Linked DNA regions of Homo sapiens: all the other regions are linked to region 2. Evidence: promoter capture Hi-C in 16 types of primary human blood cells and fetal thymus (Javierre and others, 2016). All regions are on one chromosome and are shown on one strand. Each heading gives the region's core, a stretch centred on a gene start or on the middle of the fragment in contact. The rest is flanking DNA. Distances are from core to core; before and after follow the strand shown. Region 1 overlaps AOC3 (amine oxidase copper containing 3). Region 2 holds the start of TMEM106A (transmembrane protein 106A). Region 3 overlaps BECN1 (beclin 1).

Evidence for each region. The method cuts DNA at HindIII sites, captures the fragments that hold promoters and counts their contacts. A CHiCAGO score of 5 or more calls a contact.
Region 1: a fragment that was not itself captured here is called in contact with the fragment with the promoter of TMEM106A in region 2 in 1 of 17 cell types (naive B cells); the score reaches 5.2 in naive B cells.
Region 3: a fragment that was not itself captured here is called in contact with the fragment with the promoter of TMEM106A in region 2 in 2 of 17 cell types (total B cells and M1 macrophages); the score reaches 5.3 in total B cells.

The regions. Positions count from the first base shown.
Region 1 is chr17:42,855,625-42,858,624 of GRCh38, forward strand. It overlaps AOC3 (amine oxidase copper containing 3), which reads left to right. Exons shown (of 4, transcript NM_003734.4): 4 at 651-2,500. The coding sequence ends at 926. Among named protein-coding and RNA genes, the nearest start is that of AOC3, 5.9 kb to the left of the region's middle. The HindIII fragment of the contact is 2,658 bases long and covers 258-2,915 here.
Region 2 is chr17:43,210,540-43,213,349 of GRCh38, forward strand. It overlaps TMEM106A (transmembrane protein 106A), which reads left to right and starts at 1,336. Exons shown (of 9, transcript NM_145041.4): 1 at 1,336-1,383; 2 at 1,688-1,855; 3 at 2,482-2,713. The coding sequence starts at 2,503. NBR1 (NBR1 autophagy cargo receptor) reads left to right here. Exons shown (of 21, transcript NM_005899.5): 21 at 1-1,149. The HindIII fragment of the contact is 182 bases long and covers 1,310-1,491 here.
Region 3 is chr17:42,815,800-42,818,860 of GRCh38, forward strand. BECN1 (beclin 1) reads right to left here. Exons shown (of 12, transcript NM_001313998.2): 5 at 2,988-3,061; 6 at 2,745-2,881; 7 at 2,422-2,616; 8 at 109-255. Among named protein-coding and RNA genes, the nearest start is that of MIR6781, 6.6 kb to the right of the region's middle. RefSeq lists an enhancer at 1,981-3,061. The HindIII fragment of the contact is 505 bases long and covers 1,560-2,064 here.

The sequences.
Region 1 (3,000 bases), core at 337-2,836, 350 kb before region 2:
GGGTCCCTGAAAACCACCTGCACTTCTCAGGGGTGGTGCTGATTCCTGCCTTCTGCACTTCAGTATATCTGATCATTATCCTTTGAGGGAACCTTCCTGAGCTGGGTGTCCATATGCAGACACTGAGTGAGGCCCTGGGCCTGTCCTTGAGATCTTAGAGCCCTCTTAGTTCCAGTTTCATGGACTGAGTCCTTTCCAGGCTCCAGGACTCAGGAGGGATGGAAGTTACCAGGGAAAATGACATCTCCTGTATCTGAAGCTTCTCCCATTCCTGACTTGATGAATTTCACAATGTTGGCCTGGTTCTGCTTCCCAAGCGCTGGTTCTTTTTCCTCCACCCTTCTTTCCTCAGTTGTGGGGAACTCTTGGAGAGTTAGGGGAAGAGGAGCTGAAGTAGCCTGTGGGTGTCACCCTCTGGGGGTAGATAGGCAATGGGCGATATGATGGGAAATGTCAGAGATGGAGGCTGCAAGCCAGGGACAGGGAAGCAGGTGTTCCTAATATGAAATGGACTACTTATGCTTTGACTCCTACCCAGCAGGAAAAAATGTTTAAAGACTCATGATCCTTGGGCTGGTGAGCTGAATCCCTACCAGGGCATGTCCTCAGCAAAGCCAGACCTCGTGATCCTCTTTCTTCTCCCCTGCTAGGATTTGGTGGCCTGGGTGACAGCTGGTTTTCTGCATATCCCACATGCAGAGGACATTCCTAACACAGTGACTGTGGGGAACGGCGTGGGCTTCTTCCTCCGACCCTATAACTTCTTTGACGAAGACCCCTCCTTCTACTCTGCCGACTCCATCTACTTCCGAGGGGACCAGGATGCTGGGGCCTGCGAGGTCAACCCCCTAGCTTGCCTGCCCCAGGCTGCTGCCTGTGCCCCCGACCTCCCTGCCTTCTCCCACGGGGGCTTCTCTCACAACTAGGCGGTCCTGGGATGGGGCATGTGGCCAAGGGCTCCAGGGCCAGGGTGTGAGGGATGGGGAGCAGCTGGGCACTGGGCCGGCAGCCTGGTTCCCTCTTTCCTGTGCCAGGACTCTCTTTCTTCCACTACCCTCCCTCGCATCCGCCTCTGAGCCAGGAGCCTCCTGACCCTGTGATGCCTGACACAGGGGACACTGAACCTTGTTGATGCCAGCTGTACTGAGTTCTCATCCACAGAGGCCAGGCATGGCCCAGCCTGGAGCCGTGGCCGAGGGCTTCCCTAGATGGTTCCCTTTGTTGCTGTCTGGCTTTCCCGAATCTTTTTAGGCCACCTCCAAGGACTCTAAAAGGGGGCTATTCCCTGGAGACCCCAGAGTAGGGTTGCCAGTCCTGCAAGTCCATAGCTGAGCTGGAAAGGATGCTTCTGCTCACATTCCCTCTCATCCAGGTCCTTTCCTTCTCGTCTTCCTCTCTCTCACCTACTTCCTCCTCCTCCTCCTGTTCCTGCCTTCTCTTCTATCCTGCAATTTCTCCCGAATCCTGAGGGGATATCCCTATGTCCCAGCCCCTGGTACTCCCCCAGCCCTCAGTTTTCAGTCAAGTTCCGTCTCCTCTCCAGCCCTATGGAAGTCTCAAGGTCACGGGACCCCTAATCAGAGTGGCCAATCCCTGTGTGTCGTTCCCTTGTGTCTGTTGCTTATTGGGAGTAGGAGTTGCTCCTACCCCTGTCCTGGGGCTGGGTGTGTTTCAGGACAGCTGCTTCTGTGCATTTGTGTCTGCCTGCCTCATGCTCTCTATAGAGGAGGATGGTCATCGTGACAGCAGCAGCTCAAGTTAGCATTTCAAGTGATTTGGGGGTGCAATGATAATGAAGAATGGCCATTTTGTACCAGGGCTCTGTATTCTGCAACAGCCTGTTTGGGAGGCTGGAGTGGAAACAAAGGGTGGGCATCAAAGATGAGAAGCCAAAGCCCCTACAACTCCAGCCACCCAGCCAGGAGGGGCTGTCCAATCACATTCAGGCATGCGAATGAGCTGGGCCCTGGGTGAGGTGGGGGTCTGGCCTAGTGGGGAGGGGCCTGGCCTGGGTGGGGCAGGGCCTGGCCTGGTCCAGGCTTGGGCTCCATTCCCATCACTGCTGTCCCTCCTGAGGTCTGGATTGGGGATGGGGACAAAGAAATAGCAAGAGATGAGAAACAACAGAAACTTTTTTCTCTAAAGGACTGGTTAAATCAATTCTGATACAGCCTTACAATACAATAGTATGCAGCTAAAAAATAATTGTATGTCTTTATATACTAATATGTAATAATCTTCAGGTGAAAAAGGCAAGCCACAGAAATGTGTATAGCGCACTTCCCATTTGTGTTTCAGAAAGGAGTAGAATATAAACACATAATTGCTTATGTATGCCTATTCAGAATAAATGGGTAACACTGATTACTTTTGGGAGGGGAACCAGTAGGTTGAGGACAGGAGAGGGAAGGGTCTTAACACTTACACCCTTTTGTACATTTTGAATTTTGAACCATGTGACTGTATTACCTATTCAAAATAAACAATAAATGGGCCCAAACAGGAATTGACTTTTTTTTTTTACTGACACTTTTTTTTTTGGTGGGGAACAGGTTGGGGGTAGGGTAAAGTGGGTTAAGGAATGGGACCAGGGATGAAATTTTCTCCAGTTCTTGAGATCCAGAGAAGCAGGTGTGGCCTCTAGTAACTCCTTTTGCCTTCTCATGCTTGTACATCTTTGAGGAAATGTTAAACCTCGGTTAATTCCCTGACACACACACACCCCACCCTTTCCCTCTCTCCTGTCTTCTCTCTCTCTCAATGAGGGGCAATGAGAAGCAGTGAGGAGGGGTGACTTCTGCTTGCCAGAAGCCCAGGCCAGGGCAGGAGGTAAAGTGCAGGAAACATTCTGGATGCCACTCAGCTTCTGACCAGAAAAAGACCAGAATATGTTCTGGGAGCTCCAGCATCATGGAAGCTTCTGCTACCTTCTGTTCTGCCCCAAGCCCAAGTTCTGCCGTAGGTCAGTGGAACAATGGATGGGGAGGAATCAATGAGCTG
Region 2 (2,810 bases), core at 86-2,585:
TAGTTATTTGGCATTGAAATAACACCCAGAGCATGATAGAAATGTTGTTACTCTTCCTCTCTCAAGGAGAAAGTAATTTTCCTGCAATACTTAATAATTGGCACCGTTGCTTTCTAAAGACTCCATGGTGCATTCAAGAGTATCCAACTTCAAGGGAATCTCCGCATTTCAATGAAAGGAGGAAGAGTGTGCTGATAAACCTACCAGCACCTATTGAGCAATGTCTATTATAGTAATTTTGCATACATTTTTATTTAAGGGAAAAAATATAGGTATTGTGAAATATTTTGCTAATCTTATAGAAAAGGAAAAAATCCCGTTATTTAAAGGGAAAAGTAAATTTAACAGTTGCCTTTTTTCTTAATGTCAGGGCAGATCTTATTTTACAGTACAGTGGGGGAAATAGAAACATGTGAAAGGCAAAAGGCAGGCTCCTAAATTAATGTCAGTGAAGTTCAGGGTGGGCAAATGAGTGTGTGTGAGGTATAGGAAATGCTGATGACTTCTTTAATGCTTGAAGTCCGTTCACAGGTATCTAGCCCTAGAATGCCTAGAACAGGAAGAGGCAGCTGGTGTTCTGCAAAACTTGGACAGGGGCAAAGTTGCTGAAAAAGTTTTGGTTTAACCCGAAGATAAGTGGAAAAGAGCTTGTCCATGAACCCAGGTTCTCACTCTGTTTACAGAAGTGTGTTGAGTACAGTTGGTGAAGGAAGAGGTAACAAAAAATGCTAAATATTTTATCCATGAAAATGACTTCCAGAAAAGGAAGAATATGAACCCCAGACCGAAGGGGAAAAGATAGTTAATAGTATTATCTAACCTGGTTGGTATTTGTAATGAATGGTGATTTTAATTAGTCATTAGCCATAATGATGTTTATTTACAGTATAACTCCTGAATGCTACTTAAATAAACCAGGATTCAAACTGCAAGCCAGCCAGGCCGTTCATTATTTAAAACGTTTTAATCGGGGCTTCCGGGTAGAAGGTGGAGCGGCAGGGTGTAATTGGGTTGATGGGTGGGACCTGTCTTGACCATCGGAGTTTTATAATCGAGGGCCAGGAGGGCCCGGGTTGCTCTCCTGGTTATGTATGTACTTGTACATAACCACCTAAAGAATGGTGAAATAAATGTTCTTGGAAATTCCTACCCGGACTGGCTAGTCCTTGCGGAAGCAGCGTCCGGGCCCTCGGGTAACGTTTGAAGAGCTGGCAGCGTCTCAGGCTGCTGCGTGGCGAAGGGGCGGACCGGGGGACGGGGGGGTGGGCCCTTAGGGGCTGGGGCGGGACTTCCCTGGGCACTGAGTCAAAGCTTGAGGGGAGTGTTCGCTCCCGCATTTTCGATTCCACTCTCTTCCGTTTCTGTCGCTGCAGTCGTCCGCGGGTAAGGCCCTCCCTAGACCCTTTATACCTACTTTACCTTTCGGAGGTCAAGACACCTCCTGTTGCCGCCTCCTCGCCCAACACACAGGCGCCCCCCGCACGGGTACCAAGCTTGACTAACGGCCTCTAGGGGTGTGTGGTGGGACTTGAAATCCTCCCTTAATGAAGTCACACCTTCTCCGTCCGCTTCCACCCGGTCGGCCCATGGCAGAGCCCCCATGTAGCCCAGGAATCGGCTTGGCCCTTCGGGGAGGTCAGCGTCCTTACTATCCCCACTCTCCAGTGCGGCACATTCGTTCCCCTAGGACTCCGGCCGGTTGCCGGCCCCAGGCGGTGCTTCTCCCCACCACCGCCCAGCTCAGCTCAGCCCAGCCCAGCCCACTCTGCCCTTAGAGGCCCTTCTCCCCAAAGACGCACTCCAGAAGTCTCGCCCTCGTGCGGCTGAGGAGCCTGGGATCCCAGACCTGAACAAGGTGAGCATCCCTATATTTTAGCCCAGAAAGATCTGTGTGGCTCACTTGCCGGCCTCGTTCTGTCACACAGAGTCCAGATTTAGCCTTGAGTTTTCCTAGTGAAAGACAGACCCTGGTATCACTATGACCCTCCTCAGGCTTTCTTACCCCGCCTCAGAAAGCAGTGAGGTGTCTGCTTTCTCCCAGGGCTTCTTTAGATAGGGGTCTTAACCACACCTGTGACCAGTCTGGCCTCCTCTCTCCTTGATTCAAAGAATCTCTTTTCTGCCCTATCCAACTTCCTTCCCTTAAACTGAATGACAGCTCAGCAACTTTTCCAGAGAAAAATTAAATGCTCTGACAATCACTTATGGAAGTTCCTTAAAGTGAAGTAACTTCTGCTTTTCTTTTGTTTTCCCTTTTGTAGGCAGATTGGTCTCTTTTAAAATAATGAAAGGAGTCGAAATGCATTGAGACTTCTGAGAGTCCCATGTGACCACCCAGTTTTTCACATCCTATCTTCCTTAGGCTTGAGCTTGCTTAAACTGTGGTGAAGCTCCTTGCCAGTCTTGAGAACTTCAAACCAAAATTACATCTGGCGTCAGTGCTAACAAGCTTAGCACTGAACTTTGGTCTTTTCTCATTAGTGAAACCCCCGCCCCTGAAGAATGGGTAAGACGTTTTCCCAGCTGGGCTCTTGGCGGGAGGATGAGAACAAGTCAATCCTGTCCTCCAAACCAGCCATTGGCAGCAAGGCTGTCAACTACTCCAGCACCGGTAGCAGCAAGTCTTTTTGTTCCTGTGTGCCTTGTGAAGGAACTGCTGATGCCAGCTTCGTGACTTGTCCCACCTGCCAGGGCAGTGGCAAGATTCCCCAAGGTGAGTGGCCCAAGGCTCTGGAAATAGCCTGGAATCCAGGGAAAGTTCTTAGCCTGTTGGCCTGGGGCAGCCCCTCTGAGTCTCCTTGGATGGGGTT
Region 3 (3,061 bases), core at 562-3,061, 390 kb before region 2:
GAAGATAACCTACAGTCCCTCTTTTGTGGGAAGTGGGCACCCAGGCTTAGTGGTCAACAGCTAAGGTCTAGATATGTGCAGTGCTCCTCATCCCCTAGCTCTCATTACCAGATGTGGAAGGTTGCATTAAAGACGTTGGTTTTCTTCAGCTTATCCAGCTGCGTCTGGGCATAACGCATCTGGTTTTCAACACTCTTCAGCTCATCATCCAGCTCCAGCTGCTGTCGTTTAAATTCACTGTATTCTCTCTGATACCTGTGAGCAGCCAAGGGGGCCATTGAAGGCTGTTAGCTTGGGGGCTAAAGTTTCTCTCTCACCACACTATGAACGATTCTTTAGTGATCATCGTTACATCTAGCTCTCGCATCTTTTATATTTGGCATAGATCCCATTCTGAGGAACATGTATGTCCTAGCTGTTTTGCCTGGAAGGAACAGAAATGTCTCAAATTCCAGCTGCCCATATGCAAAAAGGTGGAGGAAAAAAGAATTCTCCCAAACCAGGGCAAAAAACCTCTTATTTCTGATCTTTTTCAGAAGTGAGGTGAATGGGTTAGGAGTGGCTTCTTGGGGCCAGGCGTGGTGGCTCACACCTGTAATCCCAGCACTTTGGGAGGCCAAGACGGGTGGATAACTTGAGGTCAGGAGTTCGAGAGCAGTCCGGCCAATGTGGTGAAACCCTGTCTCTACTAAAAATACAAAAATTAGCCAGGCGTGGTGGTGCACACCTGTAGTCCCAGCTACTTGGGAGGCTGAAGTGGCAGAATTGCTTCAACCCAGGAGGCAGAGGTTGCAGTGAGCTATCACACCACTGTACTCCAGACTGGGCAACAGAGCCGAGACTCTGTCTCAAAAAAAAAAAAAAAAAAGAGTGGCTTCTGCTTCTTCTGGGCCGGGTGCAGTGGCTCACACCTGTAATCCCAGCACTTTGGGAGGCTGAGGTGGGCAGATCACCTGAGGTCAGGAGTTAGATGCCAGCCTGGCCAACATGGTGAAATTCCGTCTCTACTAAAAAAATAAAATTAGCCAGGCGTGGTGGCGCACGCCTGTAGTCCCAGCTACTTGGGAGGCTGAGGTAGGAGAATCGCTTGAACCTGGGAGGTGGAGGTTGCAGACAACTGAGATCATGCCACTGCACTCCAGCCTAGGCAACAGAGTGAGACTCTGTCTCAAAAAAAAACCAAAATCAAAAACAAAAAACAGTGGCTTTTTCCAGCTGGCCATGGTGGCTTATGCCTGTAAACCCAGCACTTTGGGAGGCTGAGGCAGGTGGATCACTTGAGCTCAAGAGTTCAAGACCAGCCTGGGCAACATGGGGAAACTCCATCTCTATAAAAAATACAAAAATTAGCCAGGTATGGTGTTGCGCGCCTGTAGTTCCAGCTACTTGGGAGGCTGAGGCGGGAGGATTGCTTAGGTGTAGGAAGTCAAGGCCGCAGTGAGTCATGACTGCACCACTGCACTCCAGCCTGGATGACAGAGTAAGACTCTGTTTCTAAAAAAAAAAAAAACAAAAAAACAGTGGCTTCTTCCATGAACTGGCCATAATTGGCCTTCTAAAGCTTCATTTCTATACACTTACTGTCCTTTAAATAGTTACTATACCCCACTTCCAGTGAAACTTGTTATACTACTGTGTGAAAAAAATGGACTTTTCTCTATCCTTCATTTCCACAACTTCAGTTAGTATGGACACTGTGTGTCCTCCACTAGAGAGAGGGTTCTCTCAGGTCAAGGACATCTATAATGTTTTTATTTTTTGAGACAGGGTCTCAACTCTGTTGCCCAAGCTGGAGTGCAGAGGTGTGATCACAGCACACTGTAACCTCAAACTCCTGGGCTCAAGTTATCCTCCACTTCAGCCTCCTAAGTAGTTGCTAGGACTACAGGTCTACCACAGCAGCCTAATTTTTTTTTAATTTTCATTTTTGTAGAGATGGGGTCTCACTTGATATTGCCCCAGATGGCCTTAAATCCTGGCTTTAAGTGATCCTTCTGCCTTGGCCTCCCAAAGTGCTGGAATTACAGATATGAACGACCATACCTGGCCCCCATGAAATGTTTAAGCTTGGAGGGAACAAATGTAGGCTAATTAGCTCATCTTTTCAGCTAAGGATGGCTAGAAAGTGGCTGATTCATCCAAATGAGCCCATTCCCTACAGGACAGAGCCAAGACTGGAGCTCTGGTTTCTGCACTATTTAACCAACATACTTTTTTCACTTAATCATGCTGACTCTTCATAGGTAACTCTCCCAACAAACCTCTAGAAAAAGGGCATGGAAGCAATATGCAGGATCTGGGGCAGGCATGCTGCTGACTGACAGCTGACTAGTTTACAAACTATTCAGACACATTCAGCTGGAAGCCATTTCCTCTCCTGGAGCCTCGAGTGTGAGAAGATAGAACAGGGTGAGCACTCACTGAGCTTCCTCCTGATCCAGTCTCTCAGCCTCAGCCTGGACCTTCTCGAGATTTTCTGCCACTATCTTGCGGTTCTTTTCCACGTCTTCCAGCTCCTGGATCAGCCTCTCCTCCTCTAGTGCCAGCTCCTTTAGCTCCATCTGTAACTGTTCACTGTCATCCTCATTCATTTGCTCTAAGATCTCCAAACAGCGTCTGCCAAAGACACAGGCAGACTATACTTACTAGAGCTCCATTTGCCTGAGTGGAGTACGGCTCTTGGGTAAGGGCCAAGCAGTCTCAGAGCAGTAACAGCTCTGAGCCCTGGCTCTGGAGACACTCACTTGTAGTTCTGACACTCATTTTCAGTGACGTTGAGCTGAGTGTCCAGCTGGTCTAAAAGAGTATCTGTGCATTCCTCACAGAGTGGGTGATCCACATCTGTCTGGCCCGACATGATGTCAAAAAGGTCCCCAGTGACCTGGAAGTGTGGGAGAGTCAGGGTAGGGCCTCCCCCATGCTTCCTGCTCAATTACCCACTCTCCCAGCCAGGCCTACTGCTTGCCACCGGAATGGGGCCGACTTGCCTTCAGTCTTCGGCTGAGGTTCTCCATGGTGCCGCCATCAGATGCCTCCCCAATCAGAGTGAAGCTGTTGGCAC